Regions from separate parts of the Homo sapiens genome. Here regions 1, 3 and 4 are each linked to region 2. Evidence: promoter capture Hi-C in human tissues and cell types (Jung and others, 2019). All regions are on one chromosome and are shown on one strand. Each heading gives the region's core, a stretch centred on a gene start or on the middle of the fragment in contact. The rest is flanking DNA. Distances are from core to core; before and after follow the strand shown. Region 1 holds the start of LINC00628 (long intergenic non-protein coding RNA 628). Region 2 holds the start of KISS1 (KiSS-1 metastasis suppressor). Region 3 overlaps PLEKHA6 (pleckstrin homology domain containing A6). Region 4 has its middle 14 kb from the start of PPP1R15B.

Evidence for each region. The method cuts DNA at HindIII sites, captures the fragments that hold promoters and counts their contacts. A contact is called where the count stands out against the background at its distance.
Region 1: a fragment that was not itself captured here is called in contact with the fragment with the promoter of KISS1 in region 2 in 1 of the 25 tissues and cell types used here (IMR-90 fibroblasts).
Region 3: a contact is called between a fragment that was not itself captured here and the fragment with the promoter of KISS1 in region 2, in 1 of the 25 tissues and cell types used here (dorsolateral prefrontal cortex).
Region 4: a fragment that was not itself captured here is called in contact with the fragment with the promoter of KISS1 in region 2 in 7 of the 25 tissues and cell types used here (H1 embryonic stem cells, IMR-90 fibroblasts, aorta and 4 more).

What each region holds. Positions count from the first base shown.
Region 1 is chr1:204,369,420-204,372,119 of GRCh38, reverse strand. LINC00628 (long intergenic non-protein coding RNA 628) reads left to right here and starts at 2,401. Exons shown (of 1, transcript NR_027022.1): 1 at 2,401-2,700. It also overlaps a transcript of PLEKHA6 not described here. The HindIII fragment of the contact is 5,024 bases long and covers 1-2,700 here.
Region 2 is chr1:204,195,088-204,197,787 of GRCh38, reverse strand. It overlaps KISS1 (KiSS-1 metastasis suppressor), which reads left to right and starts at 1,297. Exons shown (of 3, transcript NM_002256.4): 1 at 1,297-1,412. The HindIII fragment of the contact is 9,045 bases long and covers 1-2,700 here.
Region 3 is chr1:204,333,978-204,336,677 of GRCh38, reverse strand. The region is part of intron 1 of PLEKHA6 (pleckstrin homology domain containing A6); the gene reads left to right. Among named protein-coding and RNA genes, the nearest start is that of PLEKHA6, 25 kb to the left of the region's middle. RefSeq lists an enhancer at 1-135. The HindIII fragment of the contact is 6,420 bases long and covers 1-2,700 here.
Region 4 is chr1:204,396,754-204,399,453 of GRCh38, reverse strand. It overlaps a transcript of PPP1R15B not described here. Among named protein-coding and RNA genes, the nearest start is that of PPP1R15B, 14 kb to the left of the region's middle. The HindIII fragment of the contact is 6,586 bases long and covers 1-2,700 here.

The DNA.
Region 1 (2,700 bases), core at 16-2,515, 170 kb before region 2:
TTGTTGACACATAAGGACTATGGGTTCATGCAGTCTCCTCCTTTTCTTATCCATTCGAGAAGCTGCCAGTTAAGGACCTTCCTTGTTTTTCCCACCTGACTTTAGCAATCATCTCTAACATTGCCTCTGCCGTGAAGCCTTCATGCTTCCCCTTCCTTAACCTCATGCCAGGTAGCCCTTGTTTCTTTGCGATGGTATCACACTTTCTACACATAGTTACAATAGGGATTACAGTGCCTATCATATTGTATTGCAGCTATCTTTTTATGCATTTGTTTCCCAGTGGGATGTAGATTCTTTGAGGTTAGGGATTCGATATTATTCATCCTGAAATCCTCAGAGTGTGCTTAGTAAATAATTCTCTGTGAATGTGAATGAATGAACAGCCTTGTGGATGCTCTCATCTCATGTGTCTGGGATTGAATAGTCGGTGTTAATGTGAATCTGGAGATGAGTGTCCTGCTCAGAAAAGCCTCTCTTGTAGCTGACACTTTCTTATTGATCTTTCTGCAGTGATGAGGAAAAGTCAACCAGCTGGGTGCACCCTGGAACAAAGTCACCCATCCAGAGTGGACACACCTCCTGCCCAGGTAAGGAACCTGTCTGTCCCTGCCTTTGCAATTGAGGAGGATGTAATAGCTTGAGGTGGCAGCAGGAATCCTGTGCCCCAACTTTGCTTCTGACTTTTTCCTTTCTCCATGGATGGACTCAGCTTAGCATTTGGACTGCCTGCCATCTGGGGGAGATTGCAGGCTTGTTGGAGCTCACCTCAGTGTCTCTCTAAGCTTCCACCTCCAAAATTAGTATCTGAGATGGGCCTTTGAGGACAAAGATTTTTACTCATCTTTCATCCCTCTGCCCAGTCAGAAAATCCCCTGTCTCAAGGGCTCTTGAACTGGCAGAAGCCAGCCCCCAGTGCTGCGCTCTAGAACTTTTATGTCGTGATGGAAGGGTTCTCTATCTGCTCTGCCCAATACAATTGCCATGAGCCACATGTGGCAATGAACAACTGAAATGTTACAAGCATCACTGAGGCCCTGAATTTTTTTTTTTTTTTTTTTTTTTTGAGGCAGAGTCTTACTCTGTCGCACAGGCTGGAGTGCAGTGGCACAATCTCGGCTCACTGCAACCTCTGCCTCCCGGGTTCAAGAGATTCTCGTGCCTCAGCCTCCCAAATAGCTGGGATTACATGTGTGTGCCACCACACCCAGCTAATTTTTGTATTGTTAGTAGAGATGGGGTTTTGCCATGTTGGCCAGGCTGGTCTCAAACTCCTGACCTCAGGTGATCCACCCACCTCGACTTCCCAAAGTGCTGGGATTATAGGTGTGAGCCACTGTGCCCAGATGGATTTTTAATCCTAATTAATTCAAATGTAAATGGCCCCATGTAGCTAGTGGGAGCGCCTGTTTCTCCCACTGAGGAGAAACATGAAAGGGGACAAGGCTGACATTCATTGCTGATTATGGAGAAAACATCACTGGTAGCCCTCAGGGCTAGTGGGAAAGGTGGGACACAAACAGGTCAGAAATGAAGAAACAACCAAGGAAAAAGACTTCAGTCTAAGTTGTTGAGGTAGAGACATCAAGAATCACAAGGCCTAGGTACTTTAACTGAACAGCCATTCATCCTCCTCATGACGCCACCACGGGCCAGTAAGAGGGGGTGTGGGTCACAGTGCGGGGAGATATCTCTCCCCTTCCCGCCTTCCAGCCCTTCCCCCTCTCGCCTTCCAGCGCTTCACCGGACTGGACACTAGGCGCCTGGTTCCAAGGCCTCCGTCAATCATGGGCACAGCTGGCACTGCTGGACACACAGGATGAAGCCTTTGGCTTGTTCAGAGTCCTTTTCTTTTTAGCTTCTGAGCTGGGATCATTTCTGGAAGAGACTTCAGGGATCATGGAGTTCGACTCTTCATTTTATGGTAGAAACATTGAAGAACAGAGAGGAAGTACCTGGCTCAAGGCCATTTGACTAATAAGCAAAGTGGTGTCATGGTTAAAGGCATACATTTTGGAGGCAGAGAGATCTGAGCTCAATCTTGGTTCTATTGCTTCCAGTGTGCTCTTGCACTAGGGGTTTAATTCTTCCTGGACTTAGCTTCTTCATCTTTATAATGGGGAGAGGATTATGAACCTCAAAAAAGTAGTAGCATTACATCAGAGAGGTGGCTCCCAAAATGGAGGTGGCTGCTGCTGTTATTGTCACCATTGTATTTCCAACTTGCAGCGAGGCCTCCTGACTCTAAGGCCAGGGCTGTTTTCTTCTACCAGGTTGATGGTGGTGTCACCTTCAGTGTTTCAGCTGTTTACAGGTTGAGTCCTTCCACCTCATTATCATCCTAGGTAGGAGTGGAAGATGAATACCAGCCTGTGAGCCAATGCTTTCATTTTTGGCTGCAGCCAACTGGTTGTCTAAGGCTGGGAAGGGGTTAAGATGCCCCCGGAGCTTGCCGCGAGGGCAGCTGCCTCAGCGGGCACTCCGCCTGGATGGGAATATAAGCACTCTTGGTGTTGCCCAGGCAGAGAGGGCAGTGTGGAGGGAAGTTGCTAGAAAAAGGCAGGGGACATAATCCATACTGGCCTCTTTCCCAGGCACATCACAGTGGCAGAATTATTTATGATTCTGACCCAATGGGGATCCCTCTACTTGGGGAGACTGCCAACCCACGCCCTCCTGAATGGCAACGTCCTCCCACAG
Region 2 (2,700 bases), core at 48-2,547:
CATCATCCCCACAGCGAAGTTTTGGTCTATGAGGGTCAGTGCTGTCCTCATAGGCTATCATTTCTGTCCTGGTGTTTAACAGCCCTAATGGGTGTGATAATAATATGTTTGCAATCCCCTGTTAACAGTAAGCATCAGACAAGTGAGGGGTGCTAACCTGCAGACTGCCGGCATGCTTCTCCAGCATTAGGGGACGACCAGGTTGAGCTTGTGCTGGGAGAGCGTCCTGTCTGAGGGTAGAGACATAGCCCCTGCCTTCAGAGACTCCCAGCCTGATAGAAGAAACAGTCTCTGCCCTGGAGAGCCCCTTGTCCAAGGGTATAGAGAGTTATTGCAGGCTCAAGAAAGAGACAAAAGTCACTTGCGATGCATGCAGTTAGCAAATATCTATTGAGGGCCCTCTCTGTATGTGCCCAGCAATGGAGTGGGTGCCAAGGGTACAGGGGGAAGGGGGCCTGTCCCTGTCCTCAAAGTGCTGTACCTGAGCAGTCACAAAATAGTATGGTGGTGGGTGCCACGAGACAAGAAGGTGGGGCCCCCAAGCAGGCTGTCTGGATGTGCTGCCACCTGGAAGTCCCCTCTCTGCACCCCTGGCACTTCCCAGGTGCATCCACCTTCTGCAGCTCCCATTTCGTCCTCCTTGCTCATAGCTGGTTGCTTACCTAAGGTCTCTGACCAGTCCATAGCCTATTCACCTCAAAACCCTGCGCTGAGGAAGCGCTCAGTGACCGAGGAAAGAAGGGAAGCAGGAAGGAAGGAAAAAGGAGAGAATCTCTGCCACCACCACCCTGTGCCAGTCACAGGGCGCAGTCTAGGAGCCGCCTGGAGACCCACGCTGACCTGGCTTTCCCTCAGAGCTGGGAGCATGGGATGTGAGGAGCCCCTGGGTCAGCCTGTGCCCTTCTCCTCCCCTCTTCCTGTCGTTTTCTACGTCTAATTCAGACTAGGTGTGTCTGTGGCTCTTCGGAGAGGAAACAAGACATTTCACACTGACACTTCTCCCCACCCTCCTCAGATAGCCCATTTCCACGTTGTTTGGGGGCAGGATGGGTCCTCTGGGTGGGAAGAGGGTGTGGAGGATGGAAAGAGCCGGTAAGAAGGAGAAAGTCCCGCCTCGGAGGGCTCGGGTGGGGCAGGAGGAGAGGCTGCCTCCAGTCACAGAGCCCGGAGGCAGAGGCCTCCCAAGGTGCCATGCTCTTCAGGAGGGTCTGAGGAGGAGGGAGGGGCGGCAGAGTGGGCCTGTGCTTGGAGACGTCACCCCGGGCTTTATAAAAGGGATGTGATCAGGGAGCTGGGGAGAACTCTTGAGACCGGGAGCCCAGCTGCCCACCCTCTGGACATTCACCCAGCCAGGTGGTCTCGTCACCTCAGAGGCTCCGCCAGACTCCTGCCCAGGCCAGGACTGAGGCAAGGTAGGCACACTGCAGTGTCCACCCCTGGGAAGGGGGTCTGCCCTGACCTGGGGATGCTCTGGAGGGGAGCAGGGAATCCGTTCTAAGACGGACAGATGCATCCAGGCAGGCAAAGGCAGGGGAGGGAGACACTGATCTTTCCTGTTTACCAGCCTGGCCAGATTATCCTGGGATGCCTGGGCGAATACACTGAGTCGCACTTTATTTGTGAAGCTAACACTCTGGGGATCCCGAGGGCTCTCTCTTGCTGTGGAAGGAATACATGCAATAAATAAATGCTGTGGCTGGAATTAGAGACCACAGACACGCTTGGATGGACCTAGGGAACCGCTCGGGGCTCTTGAGAGCAATGGGGCTCCTCTGAGCAGCTCCCCCCAAATTACAGATGGCAAATACAAGCCTAACCAAGGGCATCTACCTACCCACTAAGAACTAGGGGCCACTTCACTCCAGAAGCTTTCCAACCATGCCTGGAATTTCTGTCACTCACTGGATACAAACCCCCCAGGGTGGAGGGAACCACAAAAATTGTCTACAGCAGGTCGGCCACTCATGGCCCCTTTCCAAATAATTCATTTCTACCATATATGTTAAGTGCCCCGATGGGCTGGGCAGTGGAATCTGTGTGTGTGTGTGTGTGTGTGTGTGTGTGTGTGTGTGATATGTGTGTATGGGTGTATGTGTGTATATGTGTGTGATGTGTGTGCGCATGTGTGGTGTATGTGGTGTATGTGTGTGTATGATGTACGTGTATGGGTGTATGTGTGTATATGTGTGTGGCGTGTGTGTGCATCTGTGGTGTGTAGTGTATGTGTACGGGTGTATGGGTATATATCTGTGTGGTGTGTGTGCATGTGTGGTATGTGTGGTGTATGTGTGTGTATGATGTGTATGTATGGATGTGTGTATGTGTGTGTGTATGTTGTGTGTATGGGTGTATGTGTGTATATGTGTGTGTGGTGTGTGTGCGTGTGTGGTGTGTGTGCATGATGTGTGTGTATAGGTGTATGTGTGTATATGTGTGTGGTGTGTATGCGTGTGTGGTGTGTGTGGCATATGTGTATGTGTGTGTATGGGTGTATGTGTGTGGTGTGTGTGGTGTATGTGTGTGTGTATGATGTGTGTGTATGGGTGTATGCGTGTATATGTGTATGGGTGTGTGCGTATATATGTGTGTGGTGTGTGTGTGCATGTGTGGTGTGTGTGGTGTATGTGTGTGGTGTGGGGGGTGTGTGTGTGTGTGCTGGGGTCAGGCAGAGTTGTCCCATGGCGCACATGGTAAGTGCCA
Region 3 (2,700 bases), core at 7-2,506, 140 kb before region 2:
GGAGGAGGAGGGCAGAATGCAAGCTGGGCAGTATGCAAGTTGGCCTAGTGCATGATCTAAGTATTTTCCCCAGTGTATGTATGTGCGTGCACACACACACACACACACACACACGCTCACACACCTCTTTCAGGAGGTCTGCCCTGATGGCCTCAGCTAGAACTAACCTCTCCTTCCGCTGAATTCCTGTGGCACCAGTGACTTGTATCACTCACAGCAAATCTATGCTTTCAGTTGTACAGTGGTAGCAGAAGATCGTATTGGATAAATAAGTTGGGGCTGGATTGTAAAAGACCTTGCATTTCAAGCCTCCATCCTGCAGACAGTAGAGAAGCACTGCAGGTTTGTGAGCCAGGGCATGATTGGATTGTCACTTGCGGGGAGCAGGGAGACCAGACCAGAGGTAGAGGCACCCTGTCATCTCAAGGGCAACAGGACTGGGGATGACTTGGTGCAGGTGGGTTGCTGGACCAGTTTAATCTGCAGTCTGAAGGCAGTGTCATGGACAGGGAAGATTGGTTGGTGATGAGGGTTTAGGATGCCGCACTGAGAGCTGTTTTGGGGGCTCAGTGGGTGTGGTTGGGGACCTGTGTCTTAGGGTAGAGTTGGTGACTGGAGACAGAAGAAGACCAGATGGAATTAGGTACAGGACCCTTACAAAGCCCTTCTTGACACTAGAGAAGTTTACATTGGGCCACCCCCTTATGTAGGGGCATGTGCCCTGGAACACTTTAGAGGCTTCTCTTAAAGGTGACATGGCAGAATTATTTGCTGGCTATCAAAGTTATTGAGATGAGGTGACAGGGGCTGTGGCAGAGCCAAAGCTATGGGGTCTGGGTCCAAAGACAGGTACAGATGTGCCCTGCCCATGCCACATGGACACTGTCATCCTCCACAGCCCAGCTCAGAGCAGCTGGCCCTTTCACTCCCCCGGGGCTCAGCATTTACTGCCCAGACAGAAAAGGGGAGGGAATGACATGACTCCTTGTCTGTCTGCTTTCTCCCAAGGTCACCTTTGTCTCTGCTTGTCAAAACTGGCATCATCTCCCTGGCACTGCCAGTCCTGGAGCTGGGGGCTGCATGGTGTTCCCTCAATGTCTTCTTGCCTTAACCCAGTTGCTCTGGCAAAGAGCAGGGAGAGGTGCAGCGGCCACTGCGGCGTAAAGATGCCTTTGAGAGATGGGATCCCCTTCAGACTCTTCTCTAGCCCTGAAGTGCAGCCTCCCTCCCTGTCCCCTACTCCAGGAGGGGCCTTCTCCAGGGCCTTTCTCTGCTGGGGAAGGAAGGGAGGGACTTGGTCCAAGGGAGCCAGCCTGGCTGTCTATATGTTGAGAGGAGTTGTCTGCAGTGCTGGGCTGAGGCCAAGCTAAACACCCCCCTGCCCAGCTGCCTGAGCCATTCTGCTTTCCTGGATTGGTGGGGAATGGGAGAGATTGTGTATGTGTGTGGGGGGAAGTGGTGGGGGCAGGGGTTTGTTATCTGCAGGTTAACCCTTGGGAGGCCAAGGGGAAGGAAAGCATCCAGTGGGAAAGTGCCGCTGTCTGTTTCTTGGATAGGTGATCTCATCCAGATCAAGTCCTTTAGTGGAAACTAGGAGATGGGGTGTGGATGGGGAAGGAAGAGACATTGGTCAAAGGGTACAAAGTTTCAGTTAGACAAGGGGAATAAATTCTGGTGATCTATTACACAGCATGGTGACTATAGTTAATAATAATATAATAATAAATTATATTTTTAAATTGCTAAAAGAGTAGGTTTTATTTTATTTTATTTTATTTTTTAGACAGAGCCTTGTTCTGTCACCCAGGCTGGAGTGCAGTAGTGCAATCTTGGCTCATGTAACCTCCACCTCCTGAGTTCAAGCTATTCTTGTGCCTTATCTTCCCAAGTAACTGGGATTATAGGTGTGCACTACCGCGCCCGGCTAATTTTTGTATTTTCAGTAGAGATGCGGTTTCACCATGTTGGCCAGACTGATTTCGAATTCCTGACCTCAAGTGATCCACCCACCCTGACCTCCCAAAGTGCTGGGATGACAGGCATGAACCACCCACTGCGCCCTGTCAAGAGTAGGTTTTAAATGTTCTCACCACAAAGAAATGATAAATATGTGAAGTGGTAGATATATTAATTAGCCTAGTTTGATCATTTCACAATGTATACATGTATCAAACCATCGCATTTTACCCCATAAATAGATGCAATCATTATTTATCAAATAGAAAAAGACCAAGTTTGGAATGATAGCCCCAGAACCATCCTCCGTGGTGATCTTATGAGGAGCACAAATGTATGTCATAGGTAATTAGGAAAGTTGTGTGGAGGGTCAGAGTCTTTGACTCCCTCTCTTAGGACAAAGATTTGAGGTTTGACTGAGCAGGATACAAAGGCTTTGCGTCCCACTCATCTTGTTGCCTCTCCCTGCCACCCTTGGCTCTCCCGCTGTGATGGAGGGTTAGCTATGCTGTCTGCCTTCATCCCTTGCCCAGAAGCATGTTCACCACAGGGGAGCTTTTCCAGGCACCTGGACCGAAGCATATCTGTCCTTACTGCACTTGTATATCATCCCATCCCAGGACTTCCCCCAGAGCAGGTTCTAGAAATGGGATTCTCTTCCTTGCCACCCCTGCTTTCATATTACCCTTGGCTGTTGTGTTCAAGACCTGGGGACAAATAGTGCAAGGCTAGGCCTCCTCAGAG
Region 4 (2,700 bases), core at 49-2,548, 200 kb before region 2:
TAAGTAGCTGGGACTACAGGCAGATGCCATCACACCCAGCTAACTTTAATTTTTTTGTAGAGATGGGGTTTCACCATGTTGCCCAGGCTGGTCTCGAACTCTTGGGCTCATGAGCTGCCTGCCTTGGCCTCCCAAAATGCTGGGATTATAGGCGTGAGCCACCACGCCTGGACTCTTTTTTTTAATATATATAAATAGAGATGGGGTCTGGCTATGTTGCCCATATAGCAACTCCTGGCCTCAAGCAGTCCTCCTGCCTTGGCCTCCCAAAGTGCTGGGATTACATGTGTGAGCCACTGGGCCTGGCCAAGTTAATAGCTTTCCCAAAGTCACCTCTCTTATCAGCTTTATTGAAGTTTCATCCACACAGCCTTGTCTGACCAGAAACAAGTGTGCCACAATCATCAGATGATGTAGAATCACAGAATTTAAATGTCCTTAGAGAAAAGCTACCGTAAGCTTTAACTAAATTTGTAGAAAGTAATTACAAATTTCAATTTGGCTAGGTATACCACATCCATTAATTCTAGTGTCATTATTAATATAAGACACATTGTTAATTTATGAATTTAATATGCGAGCAAATCAACTGAGACCCTCCTTTCCCAGAATTAATAGGCTGCATTGGAGTACCAGAGTATTCTTGCCACCACACCAGGGGTTTTAGCTCTTTGGCAGAAGATTGGCTTTGGGTTTCTAGTGATGCTCTGTTGTCTCCACCAGATGGCGTTATCTTCCATCTGGGAGTGCCTGATGGACACCTGTTATTACAGATCTGGTTGCTATTGCTCCCCTGGAGGTGGGTCCCTCAATGTGTAAACAAGCTGGAAAACTGCCCTGCCCTGCCCATTCCAGGCCTGCCTGGCCCAGTGTGACTCCACCTTTTTGTGGTAATTACCCAGAAGTAGGGGCTCTTTCTTATAGGAGAACCAAGATTTGTATTTGAACACAAACAAAGGAACTGATTTTTTTTTTGAGTCTTGCTGTCGCCCAGGCCTAGGCTGGAGTACAGTGGCACGGTCATAGCTCACTGCAGCCTCCAACTTTTGGGCTTAAACAATCCTCCCACCTCAGCCTCCCAAGTAGCTAGGACCACAGGCATGCACCACATTGCCTGGCTAATTTTATTATTTTTGTGTGTAGAGATGGGGTCTAATTATATTGCCTAGGCTGGTCTCAAACTCCTGGCTTCAAGAGATCCTACTGCCTGGGGCTCCCAAAGTGTCGCGATTACAGGCATGAGCCACCTCACTTGGCCCTTGTATACTTTTTTATCACTGTTCAAGTCACATTGAATTTTAATTGTGATTTGCTCTTTCCTTTCTTCCTCTGTGGTGGAAGGGTCTGCGCAGTGACCAGAGTATTTTAGACACATGATACACTTTTCTTTAACTCAAGTGGTAATTTCCATAGCCTCTTTTTTCCAACACACAGGCTCCCTCCCGACATAACAAGTAATTTATGAATTCATTTCAAAGAAGCAATTTTGTATGTGAAAAGGTCTATCTTCAATGTTTACATTATTTTGTATTTGTAGTATTTGATTTTTTTTTTTTTGAAAAGCTAGCATTATTAGTGATGACCTGAAACCCAAAGTTTTAAATCAGTTGATGTAAGGTCGTCATGACTACTCTTTCCAGTGGTAGCCTAAGGTTCGCTGAAACATTGTCATCGTTATGAAAGGCACTTCATTATGCAGGATACCATTCATATCCAGTTTTCTAAGATGGTTGAGGACATTGTTTTTTAAACTTTTCTGTTTTTTAAATTGACAAAAATTGTATATGTTTACTGTCTACAACATGATGTTTTGAAATATGTGTACATTGTGGAATGGTAAGTCAAGCTAATTAACATGTATTACCTCACATACTTAGCATTTTTTTTGTGGTAAGAACCCTTAAAATCTACTCTTAGCAATTTCCTTTTTCTATTTATTTATTTATTTGAGACAAGCTGGAGTGCAGTGGTGCAATTTCGCCTCACTGTAACCTCCGCGTCCTGGGCTCAAGCAATTCTCATGTCTCAGCCTCCCAAGTAGCTGGGACTACAGGCGCGTGCCACCACACCCGGCTAATTTTTTGTATTTTAGTAGAGACAGGTTTCACCCCATGTTGCCCAGGGTGGTCTCGTACTCCTGAGCTCAGGTGATCTGCCTGCCTTGGCCTTCCAAAGTGCTGGGATTACAGGCGTGAGCCATCACGCCTGGGCTTTTTATTTATTTATTTTATTTTATTTTATTATTTATTTATGTATTTATTTATTTTGAGACAGAACCTTGCTCTGTTGCCAAGCTGGAGTGCAGTGGCATGATCATGGCTTTCTTCAGCCTCAACCTCCTGGGCTCAGGCAATCCTCTTGCCTCAGTTTCCCGAGTAGCTGGGACCACAGGCTCACACCACCACAACAGGCTAATTTTTAAGTTATCTGTAGGGGCGAGATCTCCCTATATTGCCCAGGCTGGTCTTGAAGTCCTAGGCTTAAGTGTTCCTCCTGCCTCCCAAAGTGTTGAGATTACAGGTGTGAGCCACCTCACCTGGCCAATTTGCAAGAATATAATACATTGTTATTGACTATGGTCACCATGTCGTACAGTAGATCTCTTGAACTTATTCCTCCTCACTGAAAGTTTGTATCCTTTGAGCAACGTCTCCCCAACCCACTTCTTGTTTTTTATTAACTTATTAAAGTATAATTTAC